Regions from separate parts of the Homo sapiens genome. Here regions 1, 3 and 4 are each linked to region 2. The links are contacts of gene promoters, found by promoter capture Hi-C in blood cells and fetal thymus (Javierre and others, 2016). All regions are on one chromosome and are shown on one strand. The core of a region is centred on a gene start or on the middle of the fragment in contact, and the rest is flanking DNA. Distances in the headings are between cores, read along the strand shown.

What was found. The method cuts DNA at HindIII sites, captures the fragments that hold promoters and counts their contacts. A CHiCAGO score of 5 or more calls a contact.
Region 1: the fragment with the promoter of OR52E8 here is called in contact with the fragment with the promoter of OR56B4 in region 2 in 6 of 17 cell types (fetal thymus, erythroblasts, M2 macrophages and 3 more); the score reaches 7.6 in fetal thymus.
Region 3: the fragment with the promoter of OR56A3 here is called in contact with the fragment with the promoter of OR56B4 in region 2 in 13 of 17 cell types (naive CD8 T cells, fetal thymus, total CD4 T cells and 10 more); the score reaches 11.3 in naive CD8 T cells.
Region 4: the fragment with the promoter of CAVIN3 here is called in contact with the fragment with the promoter of OR56B4 in region 2 in 15 of 17 cell types (M0 macrophages, monocytes, M2 macrophages and 12 more); the score reaches 31.5 in M0 macrophages.

The regions. Positions count from the first base shown.
Region 1 is chr11:5,855,790-5,859,472 of GRCh38, forward strand. OR52E8 (olfactory receptor family 52 subfamily E member 8) reads right to left here and starts at 1,901. Exons shown (of 1, transcript NM_001005168.3): 1 at 960-1,901. The coding sequence starts at 1,901. The coding sequence ends at 960. The HindIII fragment of the contact is 1,911 bases long and covers 858-2,768 here.
Region 2 is chr11:6,106,309-6,109,501 of GRCh38, forward strand. It overlaps OR56B4 (olfactory receptor family 56 subfamily B member 4), which reads left to right and starts at 1,376. Exons shown (of 1, transcript NM_001005181.2): 1 at 1,376-2,527. The coding sequence starts at 1,471. The coding sequence ends at 2,430. The region is part of intron 2 of LOC124902622 (a long non-coding RNA gene); the gene reads right to left. The HindIII fragment of the contact is 4,106 bases long and covers 1-1,901 here.
Region 3 is chr11:5,940,150-5,943,778 of GRCh38, forward strand. It overlaps OR56A3 (olfactory receptor family 56 subfamily A member 3), which reads left to right and starts at 2,102. Exons shown (of 3, transcript NM_001003443.3): 1 at 2,102-2,225. The HindIII fragment of the contact is 14,826 bases long and covers 1-3,629 here.
Region 4 is chr11:6,319,251-6,322,710 of GRCh38, forward strand. It overlaps CAVIN3 (caveolae associated protein 3), which reads right to left and starts at 1,251. Exons shown (of 2, transcript NM_145040.3): 1 at 843-1,251; 2 at 1-314. The coding sequence starts at 1,226. It overlaps LOC101927825 (a long non-coding RNA gene), which reads left to right. Exons shown (of 7, transcript XR_930998.4): 1 at 1-447. RefSeq lists enhancers at 1-664, 1,208-1,257, 1,468-1,827, 1,838-1,897, 1,928-2,017. The HindIII fragment of the contact is 4,344 bases long and covers 1-1,979 here.

The sequences.
Region 1 (3,683 bases), core at 651-3,150, 250 kb before region 2:
TTTTTAAGGGATTATAAATTTCATTATGAATGAAACTGCTAATAGCCACACAATTTCCAAATCTCCTGAAGAAAAAAAAAATATGTCTCAACACTACTTTAGAAACAACTTATTATTTCTTTTTTCTCAAAGTATATAAGTACTTAAAGACAATACACTGTGTCTTCGAATGTTCCTACAGCTCATAAACCCACACATGAAACATAGTAGAAGTATGCACACGCACACGCACATATATTCATATATGTAAAAATATATTATGTAAATATTATTTAAATAATTAAACAAGCAAATGAATGAAATATTTACGAATGTATATGTCATGCTCATGCTGCATTATTTCCTTTTTCCTTTAATATCTAATTTTATGACTATGCTTGCATCTCTAGGTGCATGAGGGAAATTATAGTAACTATTGAATAAGATTATGGTGGGCATGATATGAGTATATTCATGTGTGGTATACCTGTCAATACCCATATATCTACACTGCATCTATGGTATGTTAATATTATTACTAGAGTAAGCTATTATTATTATTTTAAGAATTCTAGAAGCCACTTATTCTGTTTATTATCTTTTTAAAGTAAGAATTTTATTCCGTATTCTGTTATTTCTTAAACATACTAAAGAAAACTATAAGGCAGTCTATTTGGCTTAAATTACTACTTCCTATTAAACATGTAGTTTGAGTAAATCACTCAACTTTTCCGAACATAAGTATATTAATCACAAGAATGGAAAAACTAATACATACTTTATAAAACTGCCTTGAGGATCCAGCAATAGAAATAAAAGAACTTGGAAAAGGAGAGTTCGACAAGGGTAAAATTCTCATTATTATAATTAAAGTCAAAAGCTTCAGTTAACAGATAAATAATGTTATTGGCTGCAGCATTCCCTTCTGTTTTTCTGCTTTCTATTAGGTTAGAGTGACAGACTCTCCAACCTCCAACTGGTTAGTGATTGGTCTTGAGAAAAATCCTCAGCACTCTCTCTCGAATCTGCTTTGTCCTGACTCCATAGATTACAGGATTGAGGGCTGGTGGGACAACCACATACAGGTTGGCTAATATAATATGTATATACTGTGGGATATTATGGCCAAAACGATGTGTCAAGAATGAAAAAAATGCTGGTGTAAAAAAGGCTAAGATAACACCAATATGAGAACCACAGGTGTTGAGAGCTTTGAGTCGAGCTTCCCAGGAGGGCAGGCAGAAGACAGCATACAGGATCCTGACATAGGAGAGAATAATAAGGATAACATCCAGTAACAAGAGAGATATGTTGCCAAGGCCAAACCTAATGTTGACTTTGATGCTGGCACAGGCCAGACGGGCAATGCCCATGTGCTCACAATAAGTATGAGGGATGATACGATGCCCACAGAAGGGCAGCCTCAGAAGGAGAAACACCAGTGGAACAACCATGTACAGGCTCCTCAGGACAGCAATGCCTGCAATGAGGCTGATGATTTTGCTGGTGAGGATCATGGTGTACCGAAGAGGTTTGCAAATGGCAATGTAGCGGTCAAAGGCCATGGCCACCAACACAATGCTCTCCATAGCAGTGAAGAAATGGATGAAGAACATGTGAGAAAGGCAGCCTCCAAAAGATATTTCTTTGGTATTGAACCAGAAGATGCCCAACATTTTGGGGATGGTGGCTGTAGACAAGCCCAGGTCAATGGAATCCAACATGGCCAGGAAGTAGTACATAGGCTCATGGAGACTCTGCTCAGTCTGGATCACAAACAAGAGAGCAGTGTTTCCCAGGAGTGCAACAAGATACACAAAGAAAAAAGGGACTCCAATCCAAATGTGCACATCTTCTAGCCCTGGGATACCCAGCAGTAGGAATGAAGAAGGATGGAACTGGGTGTGATTAGACGTAGACATTCTTCCTGCCATATAAAGCTGCTGGGCACACCAGCGACGATTATAATATTCCTATTAGTAATTCTTGTTCCACTTCTTCTTTTGTTCAGATTTCTAGTCAAATTCACAATAACATATTAATCTTTCTTTATATATATTCATGAGTAAGGTAAAATACTCTCCACAATTTCTCCTAGCCTCTCCTGAGCAACATTGGTACCAGGAATAGAACCAGTCTTATTCTACTGCCCCTTCACCTAATATCAAAGACTAATATAAAAAGAAATGGCAGAAGAATGTCATCTGCCAAATAAAAATGCAAAATCTGGAATTTAGCCAGAACTAAATGAGAAAAATAAAGTTCCAGGGTCAGTGTCTATAGAAATGTTACACATATTTTTGCTTCACGATCAAGGTATTTGTAATCTCAACTATTCCTCTATTTGGGAATCAAAAATGTAGTGTGTAAAACCGTTTCTGTGTTGTTATGCATTTTTACAGGTATTTGTGACTACTAGACTGTATACTTCTATATACAATTTAGACTATACTGTATACAATTTGGGACTACTAGACTGTATACTTCTGTATACAATTTAGGCTGTATATACTGTATACAGTTTGTGACTACTAGACTGTATACTTCTGTATACAATTTAGACTGTGTATACTGTATACAATTTGTGACTACTAGACTGTATACTTCTGAGAGAAGAAACAATTTATCTTGCTCATATGCAGGAAAAAGATCTGCTACATAATAGTTCTCAATTTAAAACCTCCACAAATAGACATTGATTACAAGGAGGCAAAACTGTGGGTAATTTTAATGTCATATTTTAGGAAATAAATAATTTAGTTTCCATCACACCTGTGTTTGAGAAAAGAAGCTTATCCATCGGATTTGGAAAATGGGTAAAAACAAGGAAAAGAAAATACTTGACAAAGAGTATTTTGCAGCTATGATGGAACATGGATGAAGAGATAATTTTAATCTAGATAATCCTATTATTTGGAGAGTGCATAAATACACGCATTCAGTAAAGAAACTGTTTATATATAGGCCAGCTTTTTCTGTGGCAAGGAAACTAAATATTCTGGGCTACAAAATTTTCAAATATATCTCAGTCTTATATTCATGGGAAGAAAGTAGAAGCCCTTTGGATGACCTACAGTTTAGCTGCTACTCAAATTCTATCCCAGCTGTTTTGTCTCTATGGATGTCTCCAATATAGTAAATCCTGAATTTACAGATAGTAAATCCTGAATTTACGGATAGTAAATCCTGAATTTACAGATAGTAAATTCAAAATTTGAAGCAAAAAGTTCATTACTGCGCAACTTACTTTTACTTGGGAAAAACTAGTTTTACAGATAATGCGGAATTGGTTAAATGTGACGTGGCAACTACACAAAAAGCATTGATTACAATTTAAGAATACTTGAACATTGGGGGAAGTCAGAATTGAGACGTACGCAGCAGAGATAAAAGTGTGTGAATGTCAGCAAGTTCTACTTTAATCCTGTAACAACAAAAATGCATTGCTGGTAGTACCTATTTGAAGCATACGAAGAATAGCAAAAATGAGAGATTATTTGATAATTTGGGAAATTATTTCAGAGAGAGAGAGAGAGAGAGAATGTGTGTGTATAAACTTGGGTGAAACTATCAGAGATAAGGGTATAAACTTCCTGTTTTTCACTAATTGAGAATACACAAAATAGGCAGCGAAATACCTTTCACAATTTATCCCATCAAATATTGAAGAGGTTCTCTATGTATCAGTGGTAATTAGGAAGTTT
Region 2 (3,193 bases), core at 126-2,625:
TAACACAAAGAAAAGATAAATGCTTGAGGTGATGGATATCCTAATTACACTGATTCGATCATTACACATTGTATACATGTATCAAAATATCACATGTACCTCCAAAATATCTACAAATATGATATATCAATTCTAAAAATACAAAAAAAAATCATTAAACTATAGGGCATCTAGGTGGTAGAAAATAATGCAACTTAACTGCAGTATGGAAATATGGAGCAGTCTTCAAAATATTAAGTTAAAAAAGAAAAGGAAAGAAAAAAGGAGAAAGGTGTGCTAACAATTGATTATGTCTTTTATGAAAATTATATATATATATATATATATATATATATGTTTTTATCCATGCATAAACTATTAATGGAAGGATTCCCAAGAAACATATTACTGGCTGCCTCTAGTGAAAAGGAAAAAGATTTCAAAGCCCCAAGCATGAGAGTCTTACTTTTCATTGTTTATATTTTTCATTTTATTTTGATTTTTACCATGTATAGATAATATATCTTAAAATAAAATCAAAATTATATTTAAAATTTTAAGACTATTATATCCTTTGTATATATAATTTTTGCATCACTTTTGAAACTCTACTCAAGGAAAACAATATTAAAAGCAAAATACCTGTCAGTAAATTATAGAATAGCCAAATGCAAAAATTTAAAGCAGCAATTAAAATTAACATCACACTTTTTAAATAATATTGTGAAGTCTTTGGTTAATGTATTCATCCATGAAATAAAATTTTTGAGTGCTTATATTACATCTTAACACATACTGCTAAAAGACAAAAACAAGATACAAAATCATCTCTAGATAATGATGTAGACTGTTTAAAAATAAAATAGAAAATTGGAAATAAATCAAATACTAACATTTGTTATCTGTTAGTGATAAGACTGTTGTTAATATATGTGGACATGCTTATTAGACATACAAGTGGTGATGAAAAATAGTTATTCCAACTCTTCTGTTTAGAATTTTTTTGCTTTTTTTGTTATTCCTCTGTGGAATATTTCCAGAAGTCAAATAAAGTTGAGGGTCATTCATGAATAAAAGGAGCTGGTTCATTATTGAGGAGCTCTTACCAAGACACTTAACTTTTTGTTTTGTTTTGTTTTTTAAGACAGGGTCTCACTCTGTTGTCCAGGCTGGGGTGCAGTGGCACAATCTCGGCTCACGGCAACCTCCGCCTCCCAGGTTCAATGATTCTCATGCCTCAGCCTCCCAAGTAGCTGGGATTACAGACAGGCACCACCACACCCAGCTAATTTTTGTATTCTCCGCAGAGATGAGATTTTGCCATGTTAGCCAGGTCAGTCTCGAGCTCCTGACCTCAAATTATCTGCCTGTCTCAGCCTCCCAAAGTGCTGGGATTACAGGCATGAACCACGATGCTCAGCCCCTTAGCTGAACTTTTAAACAGAGATTTCTTCTATTTCAGACAGACACTGAGACTGAGGCACCCATTCCATGGATACCTCCACCAGTGTTACCTATGACTCCAGCCTCCAGATTTCCCAGTTCATCCTGATGGGATTACCAGGCATTCATGAGTGGCAGCACTGGCTCTCCCTGCCCCTGACTCTGCTCTACCTCTTAGCTCTTGGTGCCAATCTCCTCATCATAATCACCATTCAACATGAGACCGTGCTACATGAACCCATGTACCATTTGCTGGGCATATTAGCAGTGGTGGACATTGGCCTGGCCACCACCATCATGCCCAAGATCCTGGCCATCTTCTGGTTTGATGCCAAGGCCATTAGCCTCCCCATGTGTTTTGCTCAGATCTATGCCATCCACTGCTTCTTCTGCATAGAGTCAGGCATCTTTCTCTGCATGGCAGTAGACAGATACATAGCCATCTGTCGCCCTCTTCAGTACCCCTCCATAGTCACTAAAGCTTTTGTCTTCAAAGCCACAGGGTTCATCATGCTCAGGAATGGCCTGTTGACCATCCCAGTGCCTATACTGGCTGCCCAGAGACACTACTGTTCCAGGAATGAAATCGAGCACTGCCTCTGCTCTAACTTGGGGGTTATCAGCCTGGCTTGTGATGACATCACTGTGAACAAATTTTACCAACTGATGCTAGCATGGGTCTTGGTTGGGAGTGATATGGCTCTGGTATTTTCTTCCTATGCTGTAATCCTTCACTCTGTGCTGAGGCTGAACTCAGCAGAAGCAATGTCCAAGGCTCTGAGCACTTGTAGCTCCCACCTCATCCTCATCCTCTTCCACACAGGTATCATTGTGCTGTCTGTCACACACCTTGCAGAGAAAAAGATTCCCCTTATTCCTGTGTTCCTTAATGTGCTGCACAATGTCATCCCCCCTGCACTCAACCCCCTGGCCTGTGCACTCAGGATGCACAAACTCAGACTGGGCTTTCAGAGACTGCTTGGACTGGGTCAGGACGTGTCCAAGTAACTCCAGCTTTAGGAATCCAGTAAGATGTTAGGAAATGACAGAGGTTTTAGTTCTCAATAGATCAGGGTTATAATCTGCACTTACCACACTCCCTAGGAAAAAAATGGCCAATAAAATCATGAAAACTGTCAGCCTCACTAATCAAAATATGTATATTAAAATTACAAGAAAATTTCCTATTACCTGGAAAATAAGTAAGAACAAAAAAGTGAAATGTTTCTAACTATTACTGCTAGCCTACCCCGAGATTAACACTTTCCTACACAACTGGTAGGACTATAAACACACCAAAAAGCAATTTGGTAAAATTTATCAAAATGTTTATAAATGTTTAAATGTTCTTAACCAGTAATTCTATTTTAGAAAAATATCCAAAAGAAATAGTCTAAATGCAGTCAAAAAGTTATTCATAAAAATCATTATAATATGACTAATAATAGAAAACAAAGCCTTTAATATTTACACATATTTAACTCTTACATATTTATGTGCTTTTCATATGTAATTTTTATAATAAAAAGTAAACAATAAATGTTTATTAAAAAGGAGTAAAGTTTAATTTTCGTACCCAAAAAAATCTCAATAATTAATGAATTAATGGTTAACAAGTGTTAAATACTTCTTGTAGGCCAGAAACTTTGATAAAATATGTATGTAGATTATCTGACTCAATTCTCACAATAACCCTTTGGGCAGGTACAATATTATTCCCAATTTCCAGCTAAGAAAACTCAGGCACTGGAAATTATAGAACTTGCCCCCT
Region 3 (3,629 bases), core at 852-3,351, 170 kb before region 2:
ATGTGACCGTGACAGCTACGCTGTACCGTGTACCTGTCAGCTGAATTTCTTGGTTCTAACTCGTGTGACATGTACTGCAGCTGGGATGTCCAATATAACTTTTTTACTCACATGTCTGAGATGGTTCAAACATCAGAGCATGACTGAGCAGAGGCCTCTCTTTGTGAGTCTTTTCCATATAGCTAACTGGGGCTTCATCACAGCAAAACTGTCTCAGTGCAGTCAGATATCCCCCTAAACAACTTAACTAAGAGATGCTGGTAGAAGCTACAAGGCCTCTTAGGAGCTTGTCTCAGAATTCAATCAGTTTCACTTCCAACACATTCTTTTAACCAAAAGTGAATCCAAGACTCATCTCAGATTGAAAATAAGGGGATCATACAAAGTATTGATTCCTCACTAGCATGCTACATTGGGGGCGGGCATCTTTTGAGATCAGCTACAACAAATACTGATGAGGTGAATTAAATTACTCTAAAAATTCTCATATTATTCAGCTTCTAGCCAAGATATGATGAAAGGGACTGAATTTGCTTTCCTAACTGACCTAAAACAAAACAAACCAAAAGTGGAATAAAATATAGTAAACAATGAGTTTCAAGACAGTAGACATCAGGCAAGTAAGGACAGTTATCCCTGAAATATGTGAAACAAATGAGGCAGGCCCTACAACTACCCCAGTTTTCTGTCTTCAAAGAGTTTCCAGGCTGCAGTGCAGGGAAGCAAGACCAAATGGAACTCAGTGGAGTCCCTAAGTGGAGGAGATGTAATTGGAGTACAGAAAGACCAAACCCGCTAAAGCTCGCAAGAAAGAATACTGGAGAAAAGAAAGCTGCACACAGAGAGAAGCCTGAAAACCTACAGAGGATCTTCCTCAAGTAATGAATGAATGTGTGCAGATGAGGACACTAACCAAGGTGGAGGAAGGGAGGAGGGCACCTAAAAGAATTAGTGAGAACAGTATCCAATCAACACACAGGGCCTGAAATAGTATCTGTTTCCACCGTCGAGAAAGGAAAGCATTATAATTCATAAGGCATTGGGGAAAATTCTCAAATGGTCTTTCTTAGTAGTGAACAGCAGTAAAAAATAATAAAGTCAACTTACACATAGCAACATGTATAAATTTGAAGATATAGCATTGATAGAAAAAGAATAACAGATTTACAACCCAGTGACAGTTATATAAATTCAATTTTAAAAGAATTTTTTCATAAATTAAGTATATCCCTGTATAAGCATACTGAAAATTAATTAGAAAGATATATTTTAAATCCACTGGAGTTTTCACTTTCCTAAAGGGAAGGGAAATAGGAGGAATGTTGGAAAATACAGGAAAAGAAATAAAGCAAAAGTCTTGAAGAAACTTATGATGCTTGTTTCCATTAGTTGATAAGTGTGAATAATTCATATAAGGTTCAAAATGAAAATAAAACCTAAAGGAAAAACATAGTTGCTAACTAATATTGGGTTATTTATAAATTCCATTTTTAAACCTCTCACCACAAAAAAAATTATTATAGGTCTTTTTTCTCTGAATATCACATTGCATTTTCTCAGTAAGATTTTGTTCAGTTTTCTCTTGCATTTTTATCATAATACCTTCATAAAAGTCATGATAGATTAACACCAATCCATTCAATAGCATGGTTTGGGCAGTGCCTATCAAACAAAACAAGCAGGAAGCCCACAAAAATTTCCATTCACTTATTGGATCCACAGAAGCTGCTCAGTGTGCATAGGCAGATGAATATGAACACAGATGGATGTGAACATAAGATCCCTGTACCCAGGAGACGTACTTACTGCCTACAGGACAAGCAGTCAGTGTAGCACTGGATTACCGGGGGTTTTTTGTCACAGAAAGAAAGAGAATAATTTTCTTCTCCCATCTAACTGCCTGTTTTTCCCAGGAGGACCTTTTGGTCCTACGGGAAGAGGGATTAAGAAGTTCCCAGAGGTCAGAGTTTCTGAGGCACTACAATTATAACTGCCCCAGATACTTCTGAAACTAACAAGAGCTCCAATATTAATGGAGCCAAACCCCATGCTTCACATTTTCTGTGAGTCTGGCTAGAGGATGTTAATGGTGGCTATACAAAGATTAGCCAGAAGACTAGAGAGATCTCTGTCTTCAGTCCCTATCTGTGCTCTTTTCCATTCCTGCGTCAATACTGCTGAAGTAGTCTGAGAAGGAAATAAATAAAGACTGCACCCTGTCTCAGGTAAAGAGGCTTATGTGCTCTGGGACCTTCTCTCTTTTGCCATCCTCTGGGTGCTTGGTGGTAGCAGAAATGCAGGAAAGTTGCAATTTGTCTATAGAAGATTAACAGGCAGTATGAGAGCTAAAAAGTGCATAATTTGGAGCCAAGTAAAGAAAATTTGGAGTTTTCAACTCTGAATATGGAAATTTAGTGGCTTGAAAACAAAGAATATGCCTACCAGTGTCTGAATTATAAAGTTAGAATTACATTAGTTTCTATAACTTCAGAGGTTGAAGACAAAGACCACAGTTCAGGACCAGTGGAAGTCAGGAAGTAGTTCAAAATATTTCTGATCAAAATTGCTAAAATCTACTTCTGACAAGAACAGAAAACTACGCCCAGAAGAGCAGCTAGCTACCTGTCACTGGATGCACTGAATAATATCTGAAACTACACCTGAGAGAGGTATCTTACAGGCCTGCCTGAATTTTACCAAGATAGAACCCTAGCAACTCTTTTACTTTTTAAAACAGGGTTTCTTTGGCACTATTCTGTGGGCCTATCTTGCAACCTGGGAAAGCCTAGGCTGATGGTCTCTCCTTTAGTCTTTGAGCTTCAACTTCTTTGGCTTTCTCATCTTGTTCCTGGCTGGAACTGGAAACCATTAGCTCCAGTTCCTAAGCCCTAGTGTGCCATTGGCAAGTTTTGATTACAAACCAAGATTGAATAATGAAAGGAGAAAAGGAGCAAATGTGTTTCCAGATGCTTTACTTCTAGGGATGAGTACTTTATTGATGCTTGTTGAATGATTGAAAAACATGCAGAAACATTAGAGAAAATAGAAGGAAAAAGGAAAAGTCAGTGAGTTAGAAAAATAAAATAATCCTCCCATGTAATCCTCAGAAATTTCATCTTAGTGCTAAAAATAATTATCCCAAAGCTCTTCAAGAGACAGAAAATATACTTTTTCCTCTAGGCTTCTCTATGGATACTCATGCCTAAGTCACTAGATCTTCCATTTGGCTCTACCCTGCAAAGGTCATTTCAAGATTTTCTCTACTTCCAAGCACAAAACATTTAATTCCTTCTAGGAGTCCTTTGTGACCCCTGGAGAAGAAAAGCTACTTGGAAAGGTAAGATTTGGGGCTGTGATTTTCTTTAAAAAAAAAAAAAAAAAAACCACCTTATTTGCTTCAGGTTTTTTAAAATAAAATAAAACATTTCTGAAGTTTAAGTCCCCTTCATACACTGCAAAAGGCTCCTAGAACAGATAAAGGACTCCAGGATACAAAATCAATGTACAAAACTTAGTAGCATTTCTGTACGCCAATAAAGTTCAAGCTAAGAGCTGAATCAAGAATGCAATCCTAGTTACAAGTGCCACAAAAAGAATAAAATACCTGAGAATACAACTAACCAAGAGGC
Region 4 (3,460 bases), core at 1-2,500, 210 kb after region 2:
TCCAGCGTGGGCTCCAGCGCAGGCTGGGCTTCCGGCTGGGCTTCAGCGCTCCGGCCAGGCCCAAGGCGAGGCGGCTTGACCGGGGTGGGCGGTGGCGCTGCAGGGCCTTTCCGGCCCGAAAGGGCCCTTCGGAGGCTCTGTACCTTCTGCAATCCGGTGCGCCGCAGCCGCTGGGCCCTGGACTCCACCGGCTCCTCGTCCGAGCTCTCTCCAACTTCGGCCTCCAGCTGCTCTGGGCCCAGCTCGGACTGGTCCGCCGGGCCCAAGGGCTCTGGTGCCTTCTGGAAAGCGCTGGCTGGGACTTCACCCTCCTCCTGCATGTGACGGACACAGCACTGATCCTGGCAGCTCCTTACCCCCAGCAGCCCGAAACTCACTCCTTAATTACACAAGGGAAACCTTTTACCTCCGCAGCCAGAGTCTGGGGGGAAAGGCAGGCGTGGGAAGGTAAGGGGAGGGAAAGCTGCGTGCGAACTGCAAAACGCTGTAAAGTAGGTGAGGCCTGGTGAGGGGCGAGAAGAGGATAGTGCCCGCAGTCACGGAATGCCCTTTCAACCACCGTTATTTTAGGGATTGGCTGGGACTCAGACCAAATTCTGCGGACGTGGCCTGAGCTAGAGCTGGGCGGGCTTGGATTGGCCAGGCGGGGCTCAGGCGTGAGAGGGAGGGATGGGGCTGGGTCTTGGGAAGTGGGTGCGGCTCTGTGAGTCTGTTCCACAGCAACAGACGGCGGGAGGGGTCAGGAATGTGGGTGTGGTAGGTGGATGGAAGCGGGGAGCCCCCAGCTGGTGGCCCACAGGCCGGCAAAGGCCTCGGATTGGGGACCGTTTGAGGTCACTGACCTTGAAGAGCAGAACGTGGAGCTTCCCGCGCGCCACCAGCAGCCCGTGGTTGGCCTCCAGCCGCTGCACCTGGGCTGCGCGGCGCACCGCGCGCTCTTGGGCGGCGTTGGCGTGCGAGCTCACGCGCTCCGCCTTGGCCAGCAGCTGCGCCAAGGTGTTGCTGGTGGTGTCGTGGCTGCGACTCAGAGCGCCCAGGCCGCTCTGGATGCGGCGCACGGACCCTGCCAGGCCTCCCTGCCTTCGAGCCAGGCCTCCCTGCCGCTCCCGCAGAGTCTCCAGCATGGAGGCCAGCTTCTCCAGCAGGGTCACCACCGTCACGGCGTGCACGGGACCCCCCGCCGGCGCCTCGGGCACAGGCCCCCGCTCCAACGCACTCTCCCTCATGATCCCTGACCGCTCTGCTCCGTCTGCCTGCAACTGCTGGCCGCACTACGGTCAGGGGCCTCCTTTCCCTGGCTCCTCCCCAGCTCCAGCTGTGACTCAGGCAGGCGGAGTTGGCCTTCTGGGGCGGCGGGAGGGCGCGAGGGCGTGGGGATGTTGGCAGCGGGGTCTCTTGAAAGCGTTTCGCCTTCCGCTGTCCCGCGCCGGGGGCCTGCTGGGAAGCCTGTTGGCCCCAAATCGGCCCCCTGCAAACCCTCTCACTCTGAGTTTGAGTTACCCTCCTCCGCTCCAATTCCCTGGTGTGCCTGTTTCAGTTCTCCACTGCAAAGGGCGAGTCACGGAAATTTTTATTTCATGCATCTTAGTGGGCGCAGAGACTGTGTTGGCACGGCAAAGAGATAACCAGAGGGGCCTCCGTCGCCGTCCACTTTCGGCCTCCCACACCAGTGAAGATTGCCCCCAGGCTGGATGCAGGCGACAGGGAGGCCCTGGAACATTCTGCTTACAGATCGCGAACTGTCAAGGCCCGAGGCCCCGCTTTGTGACTTGGACAGGCTGCTCATTGTGGGCTGGCGGGCGGGGCATCCTCTGGTGTTTTCCTAATAGTCATCTCCAGGGTTTAGCCTCAGGCTTCGTTTCCTGCTTCTTTATTTCGTCCTCTTGGGTAGCATTATCTGGTTTCTTTTCTCTAGTTTTCTGCCCTCTCTTTCTTTGGGTTTCACTGGTAAATCTCAGCCGCCCCGGCCCCAGCACCCAAGCTTGGAGGATAAGCAGGACACCTTCACCTCTTTTAAAATCCTTAAAAGCGTTAGACTAGGCACTGGTCTTTGCTTTGATAGAGGTTACTTGGGCTCCTGCCTGACTTTTTTTGCTTGTTTGTTTGTTTCTTGTGTTCTGTGGAACTGCGGAGAGTAAAGATTTGAAATTGCTGCTGCAGAGAGGGAGAGAGTGGGCATGGAGGATCCAGTTAATGATGTGGATTGTGAATTTCTAATGTCAGCAGTTCGAAACATCCCATGCCTTAGCCGGGCGCGGTGGCTCATGCTTGTAATCCCACCACTTTGGGAGGCCGAGGGGGGAGGATCACGTGAGGCAGGGAGTTCCAGACCAGCCTGGGCAACATGGCAAAACCCCGTCTCTACTAAAAATACAAAAATTAGCAGGGCGTTGTGACACACGCCTGTAATCCCAGCTACTCGGGAGGGCTGAGGCAGAAGAATCGTTTGAACCTGGGAGGCAGAGAATGCAGTAAACCAAGATTGCTCCACTGCACTACAGCCTGGAGGACAGAGCAAGACTCCATCTCAAAAAAAAAAGAAAAGAAAAAAGAAAATCCCGTGCCTTGTTTGTAGCAATACTTGGCAAACCGTCTCACAAATGCAAGTAATCCATTAATCCTGATGATCTCTCTCCCTCTTCCTCTTCTCACTGAACCTGTGAGGGCCACTTGTTGACAACTGTGGAAGAAACTTGTGTCACTCTGGAAATAGTTACATGGGCCTGAAGTGCCACAGACGTGGGCAGCTAATGCCAGAAATCTGGTGATGCTAAGCTGATGGCTGATTTCTACAAATACAAGGCCATAAGCCTGACCCCTGCTGCTTAATACAAGAGAAAATAAGCTCTCTTGGGAATCTGGTGGGAATCACCATCTCTTCCAGTGAAACTACATTTACCCAGAGAGATCCATCAGGGATGTACCAGTTAAAATGCTTTCAGACTGAGGGAACAAAAACTCAATTCAAACAGTACTTAGTAACAGGAAACTCAATTCAAACATAATTGAAAAAGAGGATTGGTAGAGTGGTGATTAAGTGTGAGTCATTCACAGCTCCAAATCTGGTTTTCTACAGTTCTCTCCACTGCTCAACTATGAGCCCCATCCCGCACCTCTCACACTCCCCCATGTCCCCCACACACCCCCTACCCATGTGTATGTGCCCACATACGCACAGGTGTCAGCTTCATTCCAGGCCTCACAACTCTGCACAAGATCTTAAAAAAAAAAGGGGACCATCTTAAAATTTAGGACATTTATTTCCCAGAAGCCTCCCAGAATTTTTACACTTGCCTTCCACTGGGTTACATGGCTTTTCCAAATCCAAATTCTATGGCTACAAAAATGACATGCATTGATGGGTTTAGGCCTATGTTCCCTAAACAATCACTGACAAGAAATCTAATAATTGGCTTTTGACAAGTTAGATCAATTCTGAAGTAGAGTAGATTCAGCTTCC